Regions from separate parts of the Homo sapiens genome. Here all the other regions are linked to region 5. Evidence: promoter capture Hi-C in 16 types of primary human blood cells and fetal thymus (Javierre and others, 2016). All regions are on one chromosome and are shown on one strand. Each heading gives the region's core, a stretch centred on a gene start or on the middle of the fragment in contact. The rest is flanking DNA. Distances are from core to core; before and after follow the strand shown.

The links. Contacts are between HindIII fragments. The CHiCAGO score rates a contact against its expected background, and 5 or more counts as called.
Region 1: a contact is called between a fragment that was not itself captured here and the fragment with the promoter of KRT71 in region 5, in 1 of 17 cell types (naive CD4 T cells). The highest score is 5.8, in naive CD4 T cells.
Region 2: a fragment that was not itself captured here is called in contact with the fragment with the promoter of KRT71 in region 5 in 1 of 17 cell types (total CD8 T cells); the score reaches 5.1 in total CD8 T cells.
Region 3: a fragment that was not itself captured here is called in contact with the fragment with the promoter of KRT71 in region 5 in 4 of 17 cell types (M2 macrophages, M1 macrophages, M0 macrophages and 1 more); the score reaches 8.2 in M2 macrophages.
Region 4: a fragment that was not itself captured here is called in contact with the fragment with the promoter of KRT71 in region 5 in 6 of 17 cell types (naive CD4 T cells, endothelial precursors, naive CD8 T cells and 3 more); the score reaches 8.0 in naive CD4 T cells.
Region 6: a fragment that was not itself captured here is called in contact with the fragment with the promoter of KRT71 in region 5 in 3 of 17 cell types (M0 macrophages, M1 macrophages and M2 macrophages); the score reaches 6.6 in M0 macrophages.

What each region holds. Positions count from the first base shown.
Region 1 is chr12:52,791,806-52,794,505 of GRCh38, forward strand. It overlaps KRT3 (keratin 3), which reads right to left. Exons shown (of 9, transcript NM_057088.3): 2 at 2,306-2,526; 3 at 1,358-1,418; 4 at 906-1,001; 5 at 434-598; 6 at 1-11. Among named protein-coding and RNA genes, the nearest start is that of KRT3, 3.0 kb to the right of the region's middle. RefSeq lists an enhancer at 1-100. The HindIII fragment of the contact is 4,397 bases long and covers 1-2,700 here.
Region 2 is chr12:52,755,253-52,757,952 of GRCh38, forward strand. No RefSeq gene overlaps it. Among named protein-coding and RNA genes, the nearest start is that of KRT76, 21 kb to the right of the region's middle. The HindIII fragment of the contact is 1,288 bases long and covers 761-2,048 here.
Region 3 is chr12:52,370,921-52,373,620 of GRCh38, forward strand. No RefSeq gene overlaps it. Among named protein-coding and RNA genes, the nearest start is that of KRT85, 4.8 kb to the left of the region's middle. RefSeq lists an enhancer at 1,774-1,943 and a cis regulatory region at 1,859. The HindIII fragment of the contact is 4,826 bases long and covers 1-2,700 here.
Region 4 is chr12:52,773,848-52,776,547 of GRCh38, forward strand. It overlaps KRT76 (keratin 76), which reads right to left. Exons shown (of 9, transcript NM_015848.4): 2 at 1,541-1,755. Among named protein-coding and RNA genes, the nearest start is that of KRT76, 2.1 kb to the right of the region's middle. The HindIII fragment of the contact is 1,487 bases long and covers 701-2,187 here.
Region 5 is chr12:52,551,747-52,554,446 of GRCh38, forward strand. It overlaps KRT71 (keratin 71), which reads right to left and starts at 1,399. Exons shown (of 9, transcript NM_033448.3): 1 at 891-1,399. The coding sequence starts at 1,331. The HindIII fragment of the contact is 3,012 bases long and covers 1-1,584 here.
Region 6 is chr12:52,388,059-52,390,758 of GRCh38, forward strand. No RefSeq gene overlaps it. Among named protein-coding and RNA genes, the nearest start is that of KRT84, 3.8 kb to the left of the region's middle. The HindIII fragment of the contact is 1,665 bases long and covers 483-2,147 here.

The DNA of each region.
Region 1 (2,700 bases), core at 133-2,632, 240 kb after region 5:
AGCTCCCCCAACTGCAGAACAGAAGGGAAGATGGGGTATTCCTGCAGCTTTGCTTGACTTGTTTCTACACCTCCAACATCACCCACCAAACCTTCAGAAGCTCAGTAAGGCATTTGCTAAAATGATACTGCATTGTGTTTCAGCAGGGAAACCCCCAAGGCAGCAGGAAAGAGAACATCTGGGTTGTTGTGGTAGAAGATTTTCCTACCCTGTAGTTCCTGAGCAAGTTGGAGTCAGTCCCACATAGCAGGCAACCATCTCCCCCAGGGGCAAGACTTTCTGCAACTGAACCACCATTAGAAGGATGACTTCAGAGGGTAAAACCAAAAGGCATTCACCCAGTGACCACTGGGAACTCACTACCCAGCTGTCCAATAGGCCATGGCCTCTCTGAAACCTCCAGTGGATCCCGTAAGAGGTGACTAGCACCCACCTTGGTCTGGTACAGGGCCTCAGCTTCGGCCTTGCTTCTCTGAGCGATATCCTCATACTGTGCACGAACTTCAGCAATGATGCTGTCCAGGTCCAGGGAGCGATTATTGTCCATGGACAGCACCACAGATGTGTCACTGATGTGGCTCTGCATCTGAGATAGCTCCTGTCAACACAGAGGGAGCTTGTTCACTTTTGGGGTCCCTGTAACAAGCACACAGGGCCCTGAAAGACTCTTGATCAACAGTCTCATTCACTGATTCCTTGCTCCACATGTGTATCAGCCACACCCTGTCCGCAGCCACTCAGAGAACCCCATGTCTGCAGCTTATCCTGTGGAATCCCTTCCAAGGGTCCTCATCTCCAGGCTCATTCCAGATGTCTTCTGGGGCCTATATACCAAAATGCACCAGCCTCAAATCTGGAAACACCTCACTCTCCCTCTGTCCCTTCTTAGTAGGTAACATCCTTACAGCGTCGTAGAGGGTCCTTAAGAAGTCGATCTCATCTATCAAGGCATCCACTTTGGCCTGAAGCTCCACCTTGTTCATATAGGCACTGTCCACATCCTGAGAAAAGAGGAAGATAAAGGCCTTATTCTCCCAATGAACAAACAGCAAACCACAACTGCAGCAAGAAAGAGCAGAGGGGACTGGTGCAGTGATGGTCCTTGTCTAAGACCAGTCTCCACTTGAACGGGCAATTTGTATCTCATTAGGATGGTCTAAGTTTAATCCTACTAAAAAACTAAAGACTGATGAACTAACTCTTTTAGGGATCTTCCAGACTAAGGTGCACCTGACTTCTGTTTATTGCTCCAAAGGCCTGAACTTGGCAGCTCTGTGGCAGTGGAGTGAGGAGATTCCCCCAACCCAGCCAGAAACCTGCAGCTGCAAGCCTCAGAAACCTCACACACAGCCCTTACCTTCTTCAGAGTCACAAATTCATTCTCAGCAGCTGTACGTTTATTGATTTCATCCTCATATCTGTGTGAATAAAAAAGAAACAGCTGAGTTTGGTTTTGAGGTCATCGTAAACACCATTGTTCCCTGGAACTCTGAAAGTTCATCTCTTCCCTCCCTCCATCCCTATCCTGCCCCTCTCAGATGAGCACATCCTCTTTACTATCTCCCTGTTAGTTGGGGGACCAACCAAGTCAATTTGCCCAGGCAAACTGTCTGGTTTTAGCACTAAAATTTCTGCATCCCAGGAAACCCCTCAGTCCCAGGCAAACCTCTGGATGGTTGATCACCATACCATGAGTTGTCCCAGAATCTTTCACATGCCAGAACCAGGATCTTCCCCAACCTGGCTCATGAGGAAATGCTTCCCCAACTCTAAACTCATCCGTTTTTTGTTTTTGTTTTTTTTTTAGACATAGTCTCGCTCTGTCACCGAGGCTGGAGTGCAGTGGTACAATCTTGACTCACTGCAACCTCCATTTCCAGGGTTCAAGAAATTCTGTTTCCTCAGCCACCCGACTATCTTGGATTACAGGTGTGTGCCACCACACCCAGCTAATTTTTGTATTTTTAGTAGAGATGATATTTCGCCATGTTGGCCAGGCTGGTCTTGAACTCCTGACCTCAAATGATCTGTCCACCTCGGCCTCCCAAAGTGCTGGGATTACAGGCATGAGCCACCAAGCCCAGCCTAAACTCATCCTCTTGCCACAATTTTATTTGCAAAGCACCATGCTTGGAGAAGGAAGGTGAGGGGGAACTGAATGAACCAAGCTGTCCTTCATGAAGGTAAGGAGAGGGAAATGGGCCAGGAGACGCCACTGCCCAGCAGTCAGGGGGCATGTAGAAGGGGCCAAGACTCTGAGACAGGGTGGGCCATGGCATCTTCCCACTCCTGCCCTGTCACTCACTTCTTCTTGAAGTCTTCCACCAGGTCCTCCATGTTCTTCAGCTCAGAGTCCAGGCGCCCTCTCTCCCCGAGGATGTTGTCCAGGTAGCTCCGCAGGTAGTTGATGTGATTCTCAAAAAGAGGCTCAAGGTTGTTTGTGCCTGAGATGGAACTTGTGCCCTGCTGCTGGAGCAGGTTCCACTTGGTCTCCAGGACTTTGTTCTGTTGCTCCAGGAACCGCACCTGCAATGGTTGCAGGAAGCAACATCAGGCAACACTTGTAGCAGAGGAGCAGAGGGGCCTTCACTCAGGTAGGACTAGGTGTCTATCTCCTGGGCCCCCAGCACAAAGGCCTAGAAAAGATGCAAAGATAGGCTCCTACTGTAGTCAGAGAGATTATGATCAGATGGGTGATGA
Region 2 (2,700 bases), core at 155-2,654, 200 kb after region 5:
AACTATTCGGTTCCTCCTGCTTATAGCATTGTCCTCTGTGTGGGTAGTTGTGTGTCCCGCCTCCACTGTCATGCTGGAGAAGAAAAGTCTTGGCCCTCCAGACAGCCTTCTACCCAATCATCTCCTGCCCCAAACCCAGGACAGGAGCCTGTATGCATGAACTTAAGATGGGGTTTTGAGATACAGACTGACTAAATCAGCTGCCACTTGTAGGAGTGGCTGCCCTCTCTGCTAAACATGCCCACCTGTGTACCAAGCCCATGTTAAGCACATGGGAAATGCAGCCAAATCATCCAACTGGAGGGAAAAGAGACCCAGCTGATTGGAAGGTCTTGAATCTCACCTCACACCCTCACATTTTCTCAGCCCCTAGAAGCCCCTAACATACCAGCTTGGATGCTTCTCTTGGCAGCCTGACACCCTCAGGGGCCTGGGTAGAGGCTGAAGATTATCCTCAAAATAAACAAAAGAGAGGCAATTTTATTAAGAATTCTAACCGGGGGTAACAGCAACAGTCATCCTGGCTATAAGGAGAGAGGATCTGAATCCAGTGGTTTCTGGTGAGCACAGGCCAAGAAAAAATTTACGCTACAGTAACGGGGGTGCTAGAAGGCCTTCCCTGCAGAGAGGCCAGAGAGCTGGGCACTCCAAGCTGCCATGCCATTGCCTCTGGAGGGAAGAGAAGTTTTGACTGGGTTTCAGGGGTAGGTTCACTGCCAACTGACCCTGTGCACGAGGATAAACAACTTGATGACCGAGAAGCTTCTAGTTACAGTTTATTAAAATTAAAATAAAAATAAAGATCATGCTCAGGTTGCCCTGGAGGCTGCAGTTCTTTCCACCTCTGGTAGGTGCTTATACCAGGCTTAGAACAGACACATTCTTTGGCACCACCACATCAACAGGAATCTAATGTTGTCCTTGCCTCTGTAGACAGCACCACAGGAGTAGGTCATGGGATGGCAAGTCAGCTCTCAAAGACTTTGGGAAGGGCACTCATTGCAAGACACACAAGACAACATGGGAGCTAAAGTTTAAGCAAACCCAGTTCTGTTCCATTTATTGAATAGCTTCTTGATCATATAACAAGAAGTTTACAGGAAGGAGGAAATGTGTTCTGTTAATACCCAGAAAGCAAACAGCCTGACACTGTCACCCAGAGCATGAGGCAGACACGGATGGGACCAGAAACAGCCACGTGACTATTGCAGTTGCAGGAGGGGATTGAAATGGGAACTGTGGAGGGCGGTTAGTCAAGGAAGACTTCCCAGAGAAGGTATCTTGAGGTGAGCTGATGGAGATGATAAAGAGTATCCCATGTTGCGGGCGTAAAGAGACTTGCAGAAACCCATCTGTGCAGCAAATATTACGCTTCATTTGAGGCAAGATCATCAAAGGCTGCTGAAGGCTACAAAGCAGAGCGTGGTATATCCACAAATGCAGGGATATGTACCAGCCTGACCCATTGAGTGGGAAGAATTTATGCTGTTTCTGACAGCCTGGCAAACTGCAGTGGGTCATGAGTTTGGATGTGGCTCACTGCTCCCCAAAGATCACCCAGAGTCTCTAGTCTCTCTTTGCTCCCATCCACCCCTGCCAACATGATCTTATGCAAGTACCATTTTCAAAATGTCACTCTCCTACCCAAAAGTTGACTAGCCTGCCTCTTCTAGCAGAACGATCTCCTCTTTTGACCTTAAATGCCCTCCCCTTTCCCTTTTTCTTTCCTCCATCCTGATTCCACCACTTTAATGTTAAAACTCTGTCATTCCATCCAAGCCAATCTTCTTGCTATCATTTGGTAGGAAGTTGAACAAATTACCTCCACGGTTTCTTCCCCCTGTTGGGTTCTGGAATACCATGCATCTCCTCCCCACCACCACCATCGTCCTTGCTAAGTTCCACCTCTGAGAGGATGACCCACTCAGCAGCCTGGCCATGGAATCCCTGGGTCTTCTCAATTCCGGTCACCTTCTCCTTCACTCCACCTCAACCACACACTCCATGCCTGCAGCCTGGACCATCACCAAGAACTGCTGCCTCCTAGAAGCTTAATTCCCAAGCCCCACTTTCTGGCCATAACTTTCCATCTCCCAGGGCTCTCCCAATTAACTCTCATTACATCTGCTCTTCACTCATGTAAATAATCTCATTGTCTTAACCCCTTCATTTTTTCCAAGGCTGTTAGCTCTCTCCTAGTTTCTTTTCCTGCTCTTCTCACATTAAGCATTATTCATTCATTCAACAAATACTTTCTGAGCATCTACTATATGCTAGGCATTGACCAGGTGGTGGAAAGTGGTGAACAAAATTGATGCTATCTCATTCCTCATAGAAGGAAGACTGGACTTCACCACCTGGACGACCTTCTCACCAGCCTCATCAATTCCCCTATTCCCCTATCTTTCAACCATCAGCCTAACAAAGTCCCTTCTCAAGGCCATGACTAAAACTTCCTTCCCCCACCTGCTGCAGGCACTGAGCTCTGCTAAGGGAGACCACCCAAGCCTAGCTTCCTACTTCACCAAGAACACTGAAGCCATCAGGAGTGATCCCCTCAGCATCCCTTCTGTGCCTTGACTCCTGCCTGCCTCCACACCCACCTGATTTTCCTTTTTCTTGTACAAGGCTTCAAGGTGTATCCCCACCCATCTCCTCTAATTCTTTGCTCCATCAGTTACCCTCCTCCCTCTCCTGCCC
Region 3 (2,700 bases), core at 173-2,672, 180 kb before region 5:
TGCTTTTTCTACTGTGCTAAAATCCCCTCCTTCCAGGAAGACTTCCTGGATTTGTCCAAAGACAGGAGGGTGCTGACACCTTCCCCATCCTGCACTGTCTGTCCTCCCAGTTTTGTGTTTGTGCCTGCCTGGGCTCTTGTGGGTTGTCTTCCCATCCCTCCTAGTGGGCTGGTCCCCCTCAGTCAGTCCTGATGGGCTCCCCATGGACAAGGCCTGCACAGCTGATTCAAACTGGGTACCGCCCTTTGCCTCTGCTGGCCACACTTTTATTATGCATCTAAGGCTACGCCACTGCCGCTGCTGAGACGCAGCTCTTGGAGGCTCTTCTTAGCCCTCTTTCCCTCTCTTTGACTTTCACAAGACTTGGGCATGATTCAGGGACCCTAAGTGAGAGAAAGGAGGGTCAGAGCAACTCTACGTTCTCCAGTGTGTCATGGCGGGGTTCCGTGCCCAGCTGACACAGCTGCTCCCTGGCCTGCTCCACGGCAACTCCAAGAAACTCCATTCTCCTCCCGAACTCTGTCCACGTGCCTTCCTATTGGCAGCATTCCCTGGTGCTTTGCTGTTTTCCATGGTTACTCGGGATCAGAGCAGTGGCTCAGTCGTTACAGAGCCTCTGATTTCAGGAATGTACTGCATGAATGGTTTTGAAATGTTTTCTTTCTTTTCTTTTTGGCAGTTGAGCCATCTCCCCAAATCCTAGGAGGAAAACAGCTATATAAAGCCATGTATTTACTTATGTAGTTATAGAATAGATAAGATTGACATGCTGGTCTCCCTGTTTGCCCCTGGCCCTCCAACTCCATTCTCAGCCGAGGAGAGTAAGCCCCGTAAAACATAAGTTGGATCATGTCTCTACCCTGCTCAAACACCCAATTCCCCATTTTGCTTGGAGTCCTAACAATGGCCAACAAGGCCCTGCACTGCCTGTCTGTGTTGTGGCCTTTGTCACCGGTCTCCCTGTGTTCAGCAACCACAGTGACCTCCCACTGGAGCACCAGGACAGGGTGCACTCCTGACTCAGGGCCTGTGCCCTGCTGTCTCTTCCACCCAAATGCTCCCCTGTCATCCAAGTGGCTTGCCCATTGCCTCCTGCAGGGCTTTGCCCCTATACCATCTCTCTGACCCTTTAAAAAAATGGCAACCTGCCCTCCACCCCAGGGCACTCTCCATCCAGCTTATCTTGCTCTTATTTATTTATTTTTCCATCACACTTAACACAGTCCAGAATTTACTTATTTATTCTATTTGTGGATTATTGTCTGTTTTTCCCATCACCCCAAAGTAAACTCCATGGAAGCAGAGATTTTGTCTGTTTTGTTCATTTTGTTCACCTAGAAAAGTGCTGGGAATATAGTAAGTGCTCAGTAAATATTGTTGACTGATGAATGTATAAATGAATGGCTATCTTGGATACTTTAGATATTTGAGGTTTGGCAGAAAATGACAGCTTGTGGGAAGCCTTGGCCCTTGAGCCCCGAGGAACACATGCAGTTTGAAAGCCATGGGACTAAGACCCCTCCCTGGCTCTTTCCTGCTTCAAGGCTGTGGTTTTCTGAATACCCATGGAGACAAAGAACACAGAACGGTGAAAACGGCTGGGTTGGGCTGGTGAGAAAGGAGATAGATTTATTTTTAAAAGCTGTTACTTATTGTTTTTATGTTTGTGTCCTAATTACAAATCTGGAGAAAAACAAAATGGTTTTACAAGACTCTAAGCTCCCTCCTCTCCTTGCTATATTGCACAAGCCAATCCTGCTGGTAGCCTGCTTTGAAAATCTCCTACGCCTTCTTGTCCGAAGTTGGTGGCCAGAAGAGGGCAGCAAATTCCCACAGCTGGCCTGGCAGCAGTTCAGTCGTGGCAGAAGCAGAGAAGGCCAGGGATCTGCCTGCAGCTGGCTCTGGTTTCCAGATCTTTGGAAGCTGGAGACAGTCCCTGACGCTTCTGCATCCACCTGTGGTTGGTACTGGAGTGGCTGAGCTGCTGACAAAGCTATTGTTCATTGACAAAAGAGAAACACCACCACCACCACCACTACTGAAGCAATTGTGTACCCACTGTGGGCCAGGTTGAGTGCCAAGCACCTTGGATTACCATTGCATGTCATCCCCACATCTCTTTGAGGTACGACATATTTTTCCATTTTACAAATGAGGCAAGAGGCGTATTGAGATTACGTGACAGGCAGAACAGCACAGTGGTGGTGAGCATGGGCTCAGGAGTCAGAGCTCCTGTGCCTCACCACTTATTTAACCTCTCTGGGCCTCAGTTTTGTCATCTGTCAAATGGGAAATAATAAAAGCACCTACCACCTAAGGATATTGAAAGAATAAAATGAGTTAACCTGTGAGAATTATTTGGAACACTACTCAGTTCAACATATGTTAGGTATTATTGTTACCTCTCATTACCTTTGGTCACGCAGCCAGTAAGTGGAAGACCTGGGATTGAACTCAGGTCTGCCTGTGCCCTTGTCCATGGGTTTGACCCCTATGTCATCTCTGGGAGATAACTGACATATTAATAATATTGAGTCTTCCAGCTCATTAACACAGTATATCTTTCTATTTATTTAAGTTTTCTTTGATTTCTTTCATTAATGTTTTGTAGTTTTCAGCATACAGATCCTCATATACTTTTTAAAGGTTTATGCCTAAGTATTTATCCTTTGGAATTAAATGGTACTATTGGAAATGATA
Region 4 (2,700 bases), core at 194-2,693, 220 kb after region 5:
CTGAGACAAGGTTTCACCCTGTCACCTAGGCTGGAGTGCAGTGGCACAAACATGGCTCACTGTGGCCTCAACCCCTCAGGCTCAAGCAATCCTCCTGCCTCAGACTCCCAAATAGCTGGGACTGGAGGCATGCACCACCACGTCCAGCCAATTTTTTAATTTTTAGTAGAGACAAGGTCTCACTTTGTTGCCCAGGCTGGTCTCGAACTGTTGGGCTCAAGTGATTCTCCCTCCTCAGCCTCCCAAAGTACTGGGATTACAGGCATGATTGAAATTCTTAATAATTTTGTAACTAGGTTCCTGCATTATCATTTTGCACTGAGGCCTGAAAATCACGTAGCTGGTCCTGTCCAGAGACCTCTCAGAGCTCAGGGCACTGCCTGGCCCTCTTCCCTCTAAATGCAGTGATGGGCAGAGGTATGGGCAGTCAGTGAGAGGGCAAACTTCAAGGAGCCTGACCACTTGCCTAGGCTCTTTGATTGACTTTGCAAAGCACAATGTGTGCATATGGAACCCAGTGAAATGTGTGCTCTCATTGGGCATTTCTGCCTATTTCCTCAGTTTCTGTTTTCCTTCATTACAGTTACTTCTTATAGGAATTTCAGTTAAGAAAGAATTCATACCTTCTGAATGCATCAAAGTTGTGGGATTCCTGCCTGTTAAGGACTAAAATCTACTACCAAGAGTTTGTATTTCATAAAGCTTGAGGAATTGGACTGATTCTAGGAGAAAAGAGGTCTCTAGGCAGGACCTCTTTTTTTCCTCTAGGAGAAAAGAGGTCTCTGGGATCTCTTTTGGGAATATGAATCTGAGTTGCCACTGAATTCCCAGAGCCCAGCACAGAGCCTGCCACAGAGTGGGTGCCCACCACGTTTGTGTGGTTGAATTGGAATAGGGCCTCTGCAGAGCAGGTGTGCCCGTCCCTGTGGGTTCTGATCCCTGGGGAAGTCGGGAGCTCCCTCCCACCTTGAGAGGCCCAGTTTGCTCCTTGCAGACCTCAGCGGATATGGACTGCAACTTGGAACGTGGAGGAGGAGGCAAACCAAAGCTGCAGAACAGGAGATTGGACGGGACACACTGATAAAGGCCTTTACCAAGTGCAGCCCTGGACCTCTGCCTAGAATCCCCAGGAGCTAGGGGAACACTCACACTCCTGGGGCCTGTCCACACCTATGATTCAGAATACCTAAGACTGGAATACAGGAATACGCATTGTTGACAAGCATCCAAGGTGATTCCTGTGTCCAGTCAAGTGTGGCGGACTCCCCATCCTAAAGGATTCTAAACTCTGGGAGGACTCTTTTGTCCCTCTGGGCTGGAATAGGAGGGGGCCCATCTGGAGCCTGAAATCTGTGTCATAGCCACATGGGAGTCTCAGTCCCCACCCTTTCACCCCCTTCTGCTTTGTCATGTTTCACTCAATAAATCCATCCCAGAGTATTGACTGAAGGCACAGTTGGGAACAGTTGAAATCCCAAATTAGGACCACACCTCCCTGCTAATTCCCCAGAAGGGGAAACTTCCCAGGAGGAGCCCTCACTTCTTTTTGAAGTCTTCCACCAGGTCCTGCATGCTTTTCAGCTCTCCCTCCAGGTTCCCCCTCTCCCCTAGAAGTGAATCTAGCTGCTTGCATAGGAAGCTGATGTAGGATTCAAAACAAGGCTCCAGGCTGCTGGGCCCTGAGCCTGTGGTCTGCTGCTGGAGCAGTTCCCACTTGGTCTCCAGGACCTTGTTCTGCTGTTCCAGGAACCGCACCTGCATGAAAGAGGGGAGAAAAGGAGTCAGCCCCTTGAGTTGGGCATGTGGGGCTGCCCATCCCAAATGTAGAACTGTGGAGAAGGAACCCAGTTCTTCAATCTACAATTTCCCCTGTTTTTTAATTTGGGAAGGATGAAGATTTAGCAAAGGGAGAGCTAGAATTTGTTGAGTGATTATGCCTTACCTGTTATTTTCATGTATTTCCGTCACATTTAATCCTCACAACCACCTATAAAGGAGTTGCTGTGATCCCCATTTTGTAGATAAGGAAACTGAGACTCAAAGAGTTTAAGTTTCCCAAAGTGACAAGTCTACTGAGTGACAAAGCTAAGAATCAAACCCAGGACTGTCCTGGGTCTATAGGGATCCTTCAGAATACCACTGAAGGAGGTAAGCACAAATAAAGTTTGTCATTGTTTTTTAGATGTAAGCTTTTTTCAGCTCCATAAAGGCAGTGAATACAGTCAATGAGGTCTAACATTTCTTTAGAAGTTTCACATAGGAAGACCTCCTTTCAGTTATTCAGCTTGCAGCTGAACTAGAATTCACTTCAGATCCTGGGCTCAGTCCCACACAGACCCAGAACACCCTCCTCTGCCCCAGCATGGACAGCTCAGTTTAATTATTGGCTGAAGCACAGCATCATCTGGAAGGTAAGGCAGCTGCCAATGCACCTCATTTAGATGCAGCCTCAAGATCTGTGCTAACACAAGGTTTTGATTACCAGCTACTTTGGATTATCAAGCAATTGCTTTTCAGGAGAAATTAAAGTAACTGCAATAATTTCATGACTAAAATGGCTCATTCTTCAAAAAGCTAAGAGCATGTTTGGACCCCCACTTCATTTACCCTCATCTCATTCTTAGCAGGAAACCAGGACCAGGAATTCTTCCCCCCATTTCACAGCTGGAAAAAGAAGGCCCAAAAAGTGAAAGGGGCATG
Region 5 (2,700 bases), core at 149-2,648:
CTGGGAATGCCATTTACCTCCATGCCTTCAGTGACTCATACGATAGGGATAATCATTTCTTCTCTGCCAGAAGTCAGGGGCCTATCTGGACTGTGTCATCTCTTCAGGTCTCTAGACACCTTTGATTCCTCCCCTGAGCTTCCCTCCCCCACATTCCAGAGATAAGAAATGAGAGTCACAATCACAATCATTTTTGGAGTATTTAGTGTGCGTCAGGCTTGTGACAAGATCTTCACCTGCATTTTCTTTTATAAGCCTGACAACAACCCCAAGACAGAAGTTATTATCTCCATTTTAGAGATGAGGAGATGGCAACACAGACAGGCAGATCACCTTCCCAGAGCCACTCAGCTGTGGCCAGCAGTGAGCACAAGAGCACCGTGGAGTCCCCTTCCCCAGTGCCCTCTTCTGCCTCTCAAGAAAGTCTTCAACTGACTGGAGCAAATGCCCAATCAGAGGGCCTGAAGCGGCCCCTTCCTGCTGCTCCTGATCCGCTGGGCAAGTGACCAGTGGGCAGGGCAGCATGCCAGGGGAGGAGGACAGCTTCCCTGCTTACTCTGGGCGAGACTGGCTCTCACAGGCCTTTTCTGCACACGGCCTGCAGGCCTAGCAATGGCACCAAGCTAGCCCTCAAGAGGAAGGACCACATCTCTTGCTGGGAGCCCTGAGAAGCCTCTGCCAGTAGAAATTGACCTGCCTCTGTTTTCTCTCTGGAAAGACAACACAGAGAACCTTACACAGGTCACCCTGTTGATGGGATGTACCTACCTTGTCCACAGTAAAGTCTTCCTCACATCTAACCTCAATCTCTCCTGCTGTAACAAAATCGTATGTTCCAAGAAGAGAAGAGGAGGGCTGTTCACAAGTTCCCCAGGCCCTAGAAGACCCACCTTGTCGATGAAGGAGGCGAACTTGTTGTTCAGAGCCTTGATCTGCTCTCGCTCCTGGGCACGCACTTTCTGGATCTCGGGGTCCAGCTCCACGTTGAGGGGGGCCAGGAGGCTCTCATTGACGGTAACCTGGTGGATGCCTCCAGGTGGGCATACAGTTGGGCACACAGGCCCCAGGGCCACACTGCCAAACATGCTTCCAGCAAAGCCACTGGCCCGGCCCCGGCCAAATCCATAGCCTCCACTCTTCCCGCTGCCACTGGCCACATTGAGGCTCCGGACACCCCCCAGGCTGTAGAGGCTCCGGCTGCCAAAGCCCCCACTGAGCCCTTTGCTCCCTGCCCGGAAGGAGGATGAGCTGCCCCCTGAGAGCACAGCTGAGCAGCCACTGAAGCCCCCCTTGGCGGCAGCTCCCGACTTGCAGGTGAATTGGCGGCTCATGTTGCTGGTGGAGACAAAGCTCAGATGCAGGAGGGAGGAAGGCAAAATCCCAAAAGGTTCTGCTGGTTGTAGTGAGGACTGGCAGGTGCCTTTATATGTGCTTGGCACTGGGGCTTGTGGATGGGCAGTCAAGAGCTTAATTCGTGGGTTTGGCTTGCCTGGGAGCAAGAAGTCATTTTCTCTATGCTGAGCTAGAGATCAAGCCCTCTCCACCTCTGAAACAACATGAAACCTTCAAATTGCTGGGCTTGCAAGCTTTGCTCATGTAATTTGGGTCTTATCTAATTAACCTGCTGTTATAGGGTAATTTGCCCCAGGCCCTGGCCTCTCCAGGGGGATGTCACTGGCACTGCACCATCCCTATCCTGATTAATCTTCTCTGGGTTGTTGGCTTCCTCCTGGGGATGCAGCAGGTGAAGACAGGATGGACTTTCCTGGATAGTTCAGGACACTGGGTAGAGTACTGGGGCCTCCAACTTCTGTTCTCCTCCTTCCTGGAAAGGGACTGATCAGGCATTACCTCTCCCCAGGCCTCCTGGAAACATAACCCATAGAGGGCAGCTGCTCTCACTCATGGGGTATTAGGAGGTGGAGTGACCCTCTCGCTAGCATGGGACAGAAGCAGCCCAGGCCAGAGCCAACCACGGGCACTATCCTCACTTCTCCCCCCTCAAACACCCATAATAAAGCAGGCTGGAGGCTTCAAACACTGGAGAAAATGAGGACGAGAAAAGGAGGATGGAGTTGGGGCAGGTGGCTGAGAAATTCAGGGACTTGACTGGAAGGAGGTACAGAGAAGACAAAGACAGAGGCTGGCCCATGGCCTGGAGGGTTATGGAGATTCCTGGGTGGTCCACTTCCTCATTTCTGTCTCTCCTCCAATGTGTATCTGCTAATAAGACTAGGAACAACTTGAGGACAGTAATCATCTGTTTAGAGTTCAAATAAAGAAGCTGTTATCAACATGAAACTTAACTCCTATTGCCTCTGTCCAGGCCCAAGTGAGCCAAGAACAAGGCTGGCTGAGCCCTCCCCAGGAGTGCAAGCCTCCAGGCAGGCTCAGACCAGAAAGACCCAATGGGGGCGACCCAGTAAGCACGATGTCATTCTACTCCAAACAGTCCTTTGATGCCAGCCCCAGAGACTCTGGCTGCAGCCCCTGCTTCCTAGCCACTGGCTCCTGTGTTGGGCCCCAGCTACTCCCATGATCGCCATTGCCACTGTGGCCCTATTCAACCCAAGGCAGCTCTGTCCCTGAAGATCACCCTTGCCCAGAGATCCCTGCTGGAGCCCCATGGGTGAACAGCAGCTCTTTGCTGGGTGGGGCACAGGAGGGAAGAAAATCTGGAGACAGGCTGGTTTGGGGCTC
Region 6 (2,700 bases), core at 65-2,564, 160 kb before region 5:
CAGGCTTTTCTTAGCAGCACAGAGTGATCCTTTAAAAACATGTCAGATCATGCCATTTCCATGCCGAAACTCCTCCCATGGTTTCCCACCCATTCAGAGTCAATGCCCTGTAAGACACTATGCAGTGTGCCTCCCTCTTCCCTGACCTCATCCCCTCCACCTGTCCCGCTGCCCACTCTGTTGCAGCCACTTGAGCATCCTGGCTGTCCATCAAACAGGCAGAATGACTCCTGCCTCGAATGCTTACCCCCTTGCTGTTTTCTCTGCTGGGAACCTTTTTCCTCAAATAGCTGTATGGCTGGGTCCCTCAACTCTTCCAGGGCTTTGTTCATATGTCATCCTCTTAGCTTCTATTGGAAACTCCCTGTCCTCCCTGTACACCTGCCCCGCTTCCTTGTCGCCTTAGCATTTACAGCCATCTGAGGTCCTCTTCTTGGGTGGATTTGCCTGTTGTTGTCGTTGACTTGTACTGGCTGGAGCAAAGCTTTAGGAGGCAGACACTGCTGTGCATTTTGCTCTCTGAGGGGTCCCCAGGACTCAGAGTGGGGCACATGGTGGGCATTCTGTATAGTTTCGTTGAGTGAATGGAAGAGGCTGTGAAGATTAAAAGCAGGAGGAGAAAGAAATAGGAAGTATGAAGAACAGGAATTTGGGCATTTGATTTTGCAGATATTTCGGGAAAAAGAGACTCCAAGTTCCCAAATGGACAGGAATGGCCCAGGAGGGGACGGTGGGGCAGAAACTCAAGAGCTCAAAGGAGAACCAATCCAGTTTGTCCCCCAGTTCCAGCCTCTTGGGGTTTGAGCCAGGCTGCTTGAACGAAAGGGCATCCCACTCCTCTGAGGCCAGGCGAGGGGTTCCAGGAGATTGGGGCAGGGGGACCAGAGGCTGTCTGGTGGAGGTGAAAGGGGAAGGGAGTGGGAGGGATGGCCTGCCTAGAGAACCCTGGTGGGGACCCAGAAGATGATATCAATTTTAGAGTCAGATGGACCTGGGTGAAACTCAGATTTGTCACCGACTAGCAGTATGATCTTGGATAGTGCTATACCAAGGGCAGGGTGGTGGCCAGGTTCTGCTGCAGGTGCAGGCACTAGGGGAACTTTTCTGCAGAGAACTTTAAAACCAACCAATCAGCTTATTAACAATTTTCAGCATGCATTGGCCATTCTAAATAATGGTAGTAGTCCCTTCCACCCCTATGGTATACCAATGACCTTGGGGAAATTGTTTAACCTCTAAGCCTCAGTTTCCTCATGTTAATATGGAATATTCCCTGTTTCATAGTATGATGAGGATTGACTAGGAAGTGCCTGGGATGTGCACTGTGCAGTGCCTGGCAGCTGCTACTGTACTCCATTCCTTTCCCTGGCTCTTTCCTCCCTCCCTTCCTCCCTTTTCTTCTCTGTTTTGCACAATCCTCCCTTCACTTCTACACAGTCATCCCTGTTCCCATCCACACCCGCCTCCTTCCTGCTCCCATGGCAGATGCATTCATACCCCATTAGCCATTCCTGTCCCATGTCCCAGCTTCCCTCAACCCTGATCAGGCTGGGTGGGGTGGGGGTAATTGTAATTGGGACCAGTCAAGCATAGTCCCTGCTCTGTGATGAACTGTCACCATCAGCAGTTTGCAGTTTGGAGGCATTATTTCGCCAGACGATGCATAACACAACCCTCAGTCATTTTTTAGGGGGTGGCAGGTGGGGAGAGGGGGCGGAGTTGCCCTGGCAACTTTGGGTAGGAGGTTTTGCTGCTGCAACAGTTTCTTCTTGCTGTTGTCAGTCAGCCTGAGTGTAACTCCAGAGACTTGCGGGCTGAGCCCAGGCTCCGTGGCTGCATTACCATGCCTGGCTGCTGGGTCATCAGGATCCTATCTGTGGAGCAGGGAGGAGGCAGAAACGCTGAGCAGAGGAAAGGGAGGGGAAGGGCTGCCTGAGGGAGGGGGACATCCTGGTTGGCCATGCAGGTTCTGGGAACGCTGTTTGCACTGTGGCTGGGTGTGTGTGTGGGAAAGGGGATGACAGGGGAAGCCCAGATTCTGAGAAGGCTTCAGAGGGCTTCTGTTTAGCCTGGGGACGAGTTTGTGCTGGAGAGAGGCACTGGCTGGAGAAGTTTTCATGCTAAGACCTGCTCCTGCTGGGAAAGGAAGCTTCAGAGTCCCCCCAGCAGGGGTGGGGGTCGGGGGGCAGGGGGTGTGTGTGAGAGGCTAGGTCCACCCTTGCCAGTACCTCCTCCTCTCTCCCCTCTCAGATGAATGAACACGCCTCCCCACGGAAGATAAAGCACCCCCTTCTTGTTTTCTACCCACCCCTCTCACTTCTTCCAGGAAGGATGGTTTTTTCAGGTTTAATGCGATGTCTCACATGGCCCACATGGTTGTCACCTGTCCAGAGTGAAAATGTTGCTCCTGGTAGACATCTAGTTCAGTTTGCTTCAACACACCTTTATTGGTTGCTAATGTGCGCCTGGCATTGCACTTAGGTGCTAGGATGGCTAGGACAGCCTCTTCCAGGTTCAGCGACTCCAAGCACCCCCTCCTCTGCTCAGGGTGCCATTTCTAGAGCCATTTTCCCAATTCCAGCCCCTGCCAGGATTCTTTCTGGGTACTTGGTGACCCTGGCTGGAGTGTGGCAATCGTGGGTGGACCTGGGACCACAGATGTGACTGGTGTGAGGAAGGGCCATTAGGGGCAGAGTCACC